Linked DNA regions of Homo sapiens: all the other regions are linked to region 1. Evidence: promoter capture Hi-C in human tissues and cell types (Jung and others, 2019). All regions are on one chromosome and are shown on one strand. The core of a region is centred on a gene start or on the middle of the fragment in contact, and the rest is flanking DNA. Distances in the headings are between cores, read along the strand shown.

What was found. The method cuts DNA at HindIII sites, captures the fragments that hold promoters and counts their contacts. A contact is called where the count stands out against the background at its distance.
Region 2: a fragment that was not itself captured here is called in contact with the fragment with the promoter of TARS2 in region 1 in 1 of the 25 tissues and cell types used here (spleen).
Region 3: a contact is called between a fragment that was not itself captured here and the fragment with the promoter of TARS2 in region 1, in 2 of the 25 tissues and cell types used here (H1 embryonic stem cells and dorsolateral prefrontal cortex).

The regions. Positions count from the first base shown.
Region 1 is chr1:150,485,648-150,488,702 of GRCh38, reverse strand. TARS2 (threonyl-tRNA synthetase 2, mitochondrial) reads right to left here and starts at 1,284. Exons shown (of 18, transcript NM_025150.5): 1 at 1,187-1,284; 2 at 649-845. The coding sequence starts at 1,252. RefSeq lists enhancers at 1,190-1,459, 953-1,459. The HindIII fragment of the contact is 6,321 bases long and covers 1-3,055 here.
Region 2 is chr1:150,659,514-150,662,506 of GRCh38, reverse strand. It overlaps GOLPH3L (golgi phosphoprotein 3 like), which reads left to right. Exons shown (of 5, transcript NM_018178.6): 4 at 579-693. Among named protein-coding and RNA genes, the nearest start is that of ENSA, 31 kb to the right of the region's middle. The HindIII fragment of the contact is 4,476 bases long and covers 1-2,993 here.
Region 3 is chr1:150,713,784-150,716,728 of GRCh38, reverse strand. HORMAD1 (HORMA domain containing 1) reads left to right here. Exons shown (of 15, transcript NM_032132.5): 4 at 2,051-2,114; 5 at 2,608-2,644. Among named protein-coding and RNA genes, the nearest start is that of HORMAD1, 5.6 kb to the left of the region's middle. The HindIII fragment of the contact is 6,232 bases long and covers 1-2,945 here.

The DNA of each region.
Region 1 (3,055 bases), core at 35-2,534:
ATTTATTGTATATTTCAAAATAGCTAGAAGATTTGAAATAGTCCCAACACAAAGAAATGATAAATGTTTGGGGTAACAGATATCCTGAACACCCTGATTTGATCATTACATATTGTATGCATATATCAAAATATCACATATACCCATTCATATGTTCAATTATTATGTATCAATTATTAAAAAGTAAATTAATGATTTAAAACAGACAGGGTTACAATCCACAGTGGGGAGAAAGTTGCTCATCTCTCAGCAACTGTAAACTTGCAAAGGTGAAATGAGTTACCAGAGCAACAGAAGCTTTCATTTCTTTCCCCAATGAAAGGACAGAGACTCTGATGCAGAAACTAATACAGATAAAACAAATCTCAGGCCGGGTTTGGTGGCTCATGCCTGTAATCCCAGCACTTCGGGAGGCTGAGATGGAAGGATCGCTTGAGCCCAGGAGTTCAAGACTAGCCTGGGCAACATGGAGAGACCCCGTCTGTATAAAAGAACAACAACAAAAAACAAAAACAAAATCTTCAGGAAAGGCTATCTTAATGGGGACGGAACAGAAACAAGCAGACCAAGTTTTCTTCCCCTGCTCAAGTGAAGAGAAAGTAAAGGGGCAGAAGGATAATCCTGGTAGTTACAGGATGGGCCTGTTACCTGATCTGCCGGGCTAGTTGGTAGGGGGTTGTGTTCCATGCCACAGCATCAATTTTCTGGCCTCCAGGAAGTGATATCTTAATAGTCCGGGGTTCCTTCTGTGCCATGCTTGCTAATCTCTTTACCTGAGCAGCCCACAGCTCCTCAAAAAGGCCAAGCCGCTCTGCCAACCAGCGTGGAGGGGTCGACACAACTGCCTGGAGGGAAAGATATATTAGCAGGTAACACACGTCCCATCATTCTTTCTTAGAATTGCAGATGATGGCACTTTGGGATGGTTAAGTGGACTTCGTCCGAATTCCTACTTTTTAAGGGGATTGGGTGATACAAGACCCTAGGCTGGGGGTCCTTCGAGCTCAGAGTCCCCCAGACCGCTAACTCGAGAATTAGATAACGAGTTTAGATACGAGTCCTTTTCTGGGGACTCGGAGGACCAGGGAGAGGAGGAGTGGCGTGAGGCTGGGTTAACATAAAAATTTGGGGGCTTCGGCTGGGCTAAGTCTGATGCGGATCGGAGCTTTGGGGGTGCCTCACGCACCGTGTGTAGCCTGCAAGCCTGTAAACCTTGGAGCCGGAGACACCGCCACCTCTGATACAGGGCCATGTTCCTTCACACCAGTGCCTACATCCTCAAACAGATTATCGCCGCTTCTCCTCCACGTAATTCTTCATTGGCTTCTGGTCCAACAAAGTCCGTGTCTATTGGTTACTACAGCTGCCACTCTAGTCTGGCACCACCTCCAGGAACTCCGAAGAGGTACACCCTACACAGCACCAGCAGCGGTGTGAGTGGTTCCGGCTGACCGGAAGACCGAAAATGTAACACACCCTCGCTATTCCCCCAGACCCGTGGCGTTTCAGCTGAAACCCAAAAATAGCAATTAGGCGTCCTGTGGCTTTGAGGACAAGGGCAGGTGAACTTTTGAGGGCGAGAGTGGGAGAAAACCAGACAGGAAATGGTAGTAATTTCCCTTTAACTATACATTTTATTTTACGTGGTCCTTACAGCAAGTAGCAAAACTTAAGAGCATAGACTGGGGAACCAGACAGACCTAGTGTAAATTCTGGATCTGCCATTAACTATGTAATTTTGGGAAAATTATTAAACTTCTCATATTTATTTAATAGAGACCGGGGGGGGCGGGAGGGGGGGGCGGGTCTCACTATGTTGGCCAGGGTAGTCTCGAACTCCTGGCCTCAAGCAATCCCTCCCCTCCCCCCCACCAAACCGCCACCGCGCTCCGGCCTCCCAGAGTTCTGGAATTACAGGCATGAGCCGCCTTGCCTGACCTATTTAATTTCTCTAAGCCTCAATTTTCTCAACTATAAAATGAGAATAGTGTTGCTCCCAATTGTTGAGTTAAATTTTATGTAAATCGTCTAGTGTGGCCCATGGTTTTTTGGTAATGGGCAAAAGCAACAAGAAGCTATTATGATAAATGACTGTAACAGTTTTATTTTTTAATTTTGAGACAAGGTCTCACCGTTGCCCAGGCTGGAGTGCAGGGGTACAATCATGGCTCACTGCAGTCTCGACCTCCTGGGCTCAACTGACCACCTCAGCCTCTGGAGTAACCACTTTAAAGCTGGAGCAAAGATGGCCGCGCGCAGTGGCTCACGCTGTAATCCCAGCACTTTGGGAGGCCGAGGCAGGTGGATCACCTGAGGTCAGGAGTTCTAGACCAGCCTGGCCAACATGGTGAAACCCCGTCTCTACTAAAAATACAAAAATTAGCTGGGCGTGGTGGTGGGCGCCTGTAATCCCAGCTACTTGGGAGGCCGAGGCGGGTGGATCACCTGAGGTCAGGAGTTCTAGACCAGCCTGGCCAACATGGTGAAACCCCGTCTCTACTAAAAATACAAAAATTAGCTGGGCATGGTGGTGGGCGCCTGTAATCCCAGCTACTTGGGAGGCTGAGACAGGAGAATCGCTTGAACCCGGGAGGTGGAGGTTGCAGTGAGCCGAGATCACGCCATGCACTCCAGCCTGGGGGACAAGAGCGAGACTTCATCTCAAAACAAAACAAAAACAAAAAAGCTGGAATCAAGAATCTGCAGAGGTCAGTTTGAGTCCCTTTATACTCATGGTGCTTAATAGGGACTTTATAGACCTTTTAATCTTTTTTTTTTTTTTTTGAGATGGAGTTTCACTCTTGTTGCCCAGGCTGGAGTGCAGTGGCGTGATCTCGGCTTACCGCAACCTCCGCCTCCCCAGGTTCAAGCGCTTCTCCTGCCTCAGCCTCCCGAGTAGCTGGGATTACAGGCATGTGCCACCCCAGGCCCAGCTAATTTTGTATTTTTAGTAGAGACAGGGTTTCTCCATGTTGGTCAGGCTGGTCCCGAACTCCCAGCATCAGGTGATCCGCCTGCCTCAGCCTCCCAAAGTGCTGGGATTACAGGCGTGAGC
Region 2 (2,993 bases), core at 119-2,618, 170 kb before region 1:
AGAAATTTCAACTTGGCTATCCCATATCATTTAAAACCAAACTTAACAAAAATGAAAGAAAACCAAATTATCAACCTTTCCCCAAAACTGACTTCCTTTTCTGACTTTCCTGCCTTTGTTTATTTATTTATTTATTTATTTAAATTTTTATTTTTTTAATAGAGAAAAGATTTTGCCATTTTGCCCAGGCTGGTCTCAAACTCCTGAGCTCAGGTGATCCACCCGCCTCAGCCTCCCAAAGTGCTAAGATTACAGGCATGAGCCACTGAGCCCAGCTGTTTCCTACCTTTATTAATGGTTTCAAAAGTTGGTTTCCAGACTCAAAATGAGTTGTTATTGAAACTTTTCTCCATTATCATTCATATCCAGTTTGTCACTAGGGCCCACTTCAAATGTTATTTTTGTCTTTGCACTATCACTCCATACTATATTTTAAACTTCTTGAGGACAGAGACAGTATATTATGCTTCCTTACATTCTTGCAATTTTTAACCAGTAACATATACATGATATATTGAAAGATTTTAACTTGAATGAAGTGAAGGAATCAGGGTTCCTTCTTTCTCCTTTTCTCAAAGGTACTGCTAAAGTCAGACAGCCCAACAGGTGATGTTTTACTGGATGAAACTCTGAAACACATCAAAGCAACTGAACCCACAGAAACTGTCCAAACATGGATAGAGCTACTCACTGGTAAGATGACTTAAAATAATATATGAATTTCACACTTTGTTATCTTTATCCTACCCTGAAATTTAGTAAAAGATGTACCGAAATTCATCGTGCTGGATGAGATAGATGTGGTTCACTATTTAATTCTAATGAGGGACAGAAAAAGCATGGTTAATTGATACCTAAAGTTTTCCAAAGCTTCACCTTATCTTCTGCCACCCCACCCCAAAAGCCCTTAAATAGTATTCTTCACAAGAAACTTTTAAAACATCTTTATTGAGAGGACAATGAGAATATTGGCATTGATGCAGTCTATTATTCTTATTAGAATTTCCCAGTTTTAATTTGCCAAATAATATTTTATTGCATGGCCATACCACATTTGTTTATCCAGTCATCAGTTGATGAATCTTTGAGTTATTTCCACATTTTGGGTATTGTGAATAATGCTGCTGTGAACACGCACGGACAAGTTTTTGTTTGAACATGTTTTCATTTCTTGTGGGTATGTAGCTAGGAGTAGATAACTGGGTCATATGTAAATCAACGAGTAACATTCTTACTGTGGTAAAATATACATAACATTTATTATTATTATTATTATTTCGAGATGGAGTCTTGCTCTGTCGTCCAGGCTGGAGTACAGTGATGCAATCTCAGCTCACTGCAACCTCTGCCTCCCGGGTTCAAGCAATTCTCCTGCCTCAGCCTCCCAAGTAGCTGGGATTACAGGCACGTGCCACCACGCCTGGCTAATTTTTGTATTCTTAGTAGAGACAGGGTTTCACCATATTGGCCAGGCTTGTCTCGAACTCTTGACTTCGTGATCTGCCCGCCTTGGCCTCCCAAAGTGCTGGGATTACAGGCGTGAGCCACCGCGCCCAGCCAACATTTATTATTATTTTAGCCATTCTTAAGTGTACAATTCTGTGAAATTAAATATATTTGCAATATTTTGTAACCGTCACCTCTATCTATACTATACCCAAAGCTTCCTCATCATTACCCATTAAAACTCTGTACCTATTAAATGATAACTTCCTCTTTCTCTCTCCCCCCAGTCCCTGGCAACCTCTATTCTACTTTCTTTTTCTATGAATTTGCTTACTCTAGGTACCTCATATAAGTAGAATCATACAATATCTGTCATTACTTTCCCTAGCTTATTCACCAAGCATAATGTTTTCAAGGTCCATTCATGTCACAGCATATATCAAAATTTCATTCCTGTTTATGGCTGAGTGATATTCCGTTGTATGTATATAACACTTTCGTTTAACCATTCATCTGTTGATGGACACTTGCCTTGTTTCCACCTTTTGGCTATTGTGAATAATGCTGCTGTGAACATTGATACACAAATATCTGTTCAAGTTCCTGTTTTTAATTCTTTTGGATATATACCTAGGAATAGAATTGCTGGGTCATATAGCAGTTTTATGTTTAACCTTTTGAGAAATCACCAAACATTTCCACAGAGACTGCACCATTTTATATTCCCACCAGTATGCACCAGGGTTCCAATTTGTCCACATGCTGATCACCACTTGTTCTTCTCTTTCTTTTCTTTTTTTTAATTATAGACATCCGAGTAGGCCTAAAATGTTATCTCATTGTGGTTTTGATTTTTATTTTCAAATGAAAATAGTTTTCATGTCATTCCTAATGACTAAAAATATTGAGCATATTTTTATGTGCTTACTGACCATTTATATATCTTCTTTGGAGAAATATAAAATACTTTTCCCATTTTTAAGTTTGATTGTTTTGTTGTTGTTGAGGTTTTTTTGTATTTATTTATGAGATGCGGTCTCACTCTGTCACCCAGGATGGAGTGCCGTGGTGCAATCTCGGCTCACTGCAACCTCTATCTCCCGGGCTCAAGGATCCTCCCACCTCAGCCTCCCAAGTAACTGGGACTATGGGTGCGCACCATCACACCTGGCTAATTTTTTGTGTTTTTGGTGGAGATGGGGTTTTGCTATGTCACCCAGGCTGGTCTCTGAACTCCTGAGCTCAGACAGTCTACCCATCTTGGTCTCCCAAAATGCTGGGATTACAGGCATGAGCCACTGTGCCTGGCCAGAGGTTCTTTATATATATTCTGGATATTAATCTTGCCGAGACCAGCTCAGTTGTGGAGACCCTAACCCAGTGGCGCTAGAGGAATTAAAGACACACACACACAGAAATATAGTGTGGAGTGGGAAATCAGGGGTCTCACAGCCTTCAGAGCTGAGAGCCTTGAACAGAGATTTACCCACATATTTATTGACAGCAAGCCAATCATAAGGTTTACTAAAAGTATTCCTTATGGGAAA
Region 3 (2,945 bases), core at 260-2,759, 230 kb before region 1:
GCCTCCCAAAGTGGTGTGATTACAGGCGTGAGCCACCGCGCCCGGCCCATTTCAATGATTTTTAATAAATTAACAGATTTGTACAACCATCACCACAGTCAATTTTAGAACATTTCTTCATCCCAAGAAGAAACTCCATACCCCTTAAGGCACTGTGCACTTCCCCTCAACCTTCCCAGTCCTAGGCAATCACCAATCTACTTTCTGTCTGTACAGATTTACTTACTCTGGACATTTCATATAAATGAAATAATATAAAATGTGGTCCTGGCCGGGTGCAGTGGCTCACGCCTGTAATCCCAGCACTTTGGGAGGCCGAGGCGGGCGGATCACAAAGTCAAGAGATGGAGACCATCCTGGCCAACATGGTGAAACCCCGTCTCTACTAAAAATACAAAAATTAGCCGGGCATGGTGGTGCATGCCTGTAGTCCCAGCTACTTGGGAGGCTGAGCAGGAGAATCGCTTGAACCCGGGAGGCGGAGGTTGCAGTGAGCCGAGATTGTGCCACTGCACTCCAGCCTGGCAACAGAGCAAGACTCAGTCTCAAAAAAAAAAAAAAAAAAAAAAAAAAAAAAAGTGGTCCTTTGTGACTGGCTTTCACTTAGCATGTTTTCAAGGTTCCTCCGTATTGTAGCATGGATCAGTGCTTCATCCCTTTTTGTTGCTGAATAATGTTCTATTGCATGGCTGTACCACATTTTATTTATCCCTTTATTAGTTGATGAACATTTGGGTTCTCTTTTTGGCTATTATGAATAATGCCGCACTGATGTACAAGTTTTTGTTTTTGTTTGGATAACTAAATGGTTTTAAAATATATACATATATATATATATTCAATACCTTTAGAAGCACTTAATCATAAAATTTTTCCTCAGTTTCTCAAGTATAATTTTACCTGAAATTATGCTTATAATGATGAAAGAAATCAATAGAAAACATACAGTAGTAGTGTATGTTCTTGTGCTATTTTAAGGAAGTAAAAATAATACAGCCAGGGCCAGGCGTGGAAGCTCACGTCTGTAATCCCAGCACTTTGGGAGGCTGAGGCAGGAGGATCACTTGAGGCCAGGAATTCAAGACCAGCCTGGTCAACATAAGGAGACTCCATCTCTATTTTTTAAATTAAAATAATAATAATAATACAGCCAGTTTATACTACAATAATAACTTATTTCTCAGTACATTATACATGCATAATATTGTACACCAGTTATGTGCTGGGCAATATGTTAAGCACTATGTTATATACGATATCTTGTTAATTCATGTAGCAGTCTTACAAATACCTGTTTTTCAATTAAGGTACCTGAGGATATGAGAGACTCTCAGTCTTTTCCACTGTGTTACATGTTGCTTCTTTGCAGGCCTCTTTGTTTTTGATAGCCCGTTAAGTTCTTGGCCTTTACAAGTATTTTACTGGGATAAGATTCTAAGATTCTTGTATAACAATGGCATGAAAGCAACATATCTAATTTCATGGATTCTATAAGTTTTTTATGAAATATTTTTGTACCCATCAGCTTGCATCCTAATTATTATGATGGCATCTTATAATAAATATTAAAATACTACTTTCATATAACCTTTCTTCCTTTAATTACATTAATAATATTAATTATTGCTATTAATAATTTACCTGTGCTGGGCAAGGTGGCTCACGCCTGTAATCCCAGCACTTTGGGAGGTTGAGGCAGGCGGGTCACCTGAGGTCAGGAGTTCGAGACTAGTCTGCCCAACATGAGGAAACCCTGTCTCTACCAAAAAATACAAAAATTAGCCGGTCATGGTGGCGCACCTGAAGTCCCAGCTACTGGGGAGGCTGAGGTGGGAGAATGGCTTGAACTCGGAAGGCAGAAGTTCCAGTGAGCCGAGATCATGTCACCGCACTCCATCCTGGGTGATAGAGTGAGACCCTGTCTCAAAATAATAATAATTATAATAATAATTTACCTGTAATACACAGCAGAAGAAAATAAACTTCATTTAAAATTTCTAGTTGTTTACTTTTCTTAAGTAACTCTATATTTCATCATTTTTGTGTTTAGATCTTTGTGTCAAAATACTGAGAGAAGATAAAAATTGCCCAGGATCTACACAGTTAGTGAAATGGCAAGTAAAAGAATACCTAAAGAGAGAAAATTATTTTTTTCTCATTTTACTTTTTTTTGTACCTTGGATACCTTTGGTGTTTAACCAAATTTTAGTGAATCACCCTTTAATGCTAGATAGCATTTTTGTAGGTCATTAAATTTTCCACCGAAGTTTTCCTCTCCTTGAAGTCTGGGTATTTGGAAAAATAAATTTTAAAAATAAATGTTTCTTTATTTTGTGCCCCATGCAAGCAGGCTTTATTTATTTTATTATTGTTCCCCACAAATAGCTGTCAGATATTTTGTATTTTCCCTTCCATCTCTATCATCATTTTACATTTCTGCCACATTGTTTTTTATGTTTTGTCTTGTTTTAAGCTAGTTAATAAGAAGGGAGCTTTAATAAGACATTTTTGTATTATTTAGTAATGAGATAATATGGAAATTTATGAAAATAACTATTTTCTGGAAATGCATTCAGTCTAAAAATGAATCCTTGATTTTTTTTTTAGGATGCTAGGATGTTATGATGCTTTACAGAAAAAATATGTAAGTCTTGCAATCTCTTTATCCTTTTTTTTCTACAGTTTATGATCTACAAATATAACTGGAGTTATGATGTAGTAAAACATTCATTTGAACTAACTTGAGTGTAGGTCAGTCTGAATTACTGAAAAGCCTAAACATTTGAATATTTTAAAGACTAATCATCAACTCATTTAAAGATAATGGAATTAACACTAAACAAATTTTTCCAAGCTAGTTTTTTTAACACTTATTTGTATTAATAACACGTGTTAACTTACAAAAAAGTTAATGAATTAAAGAGTCTTTTCAAATAGTTTATTCA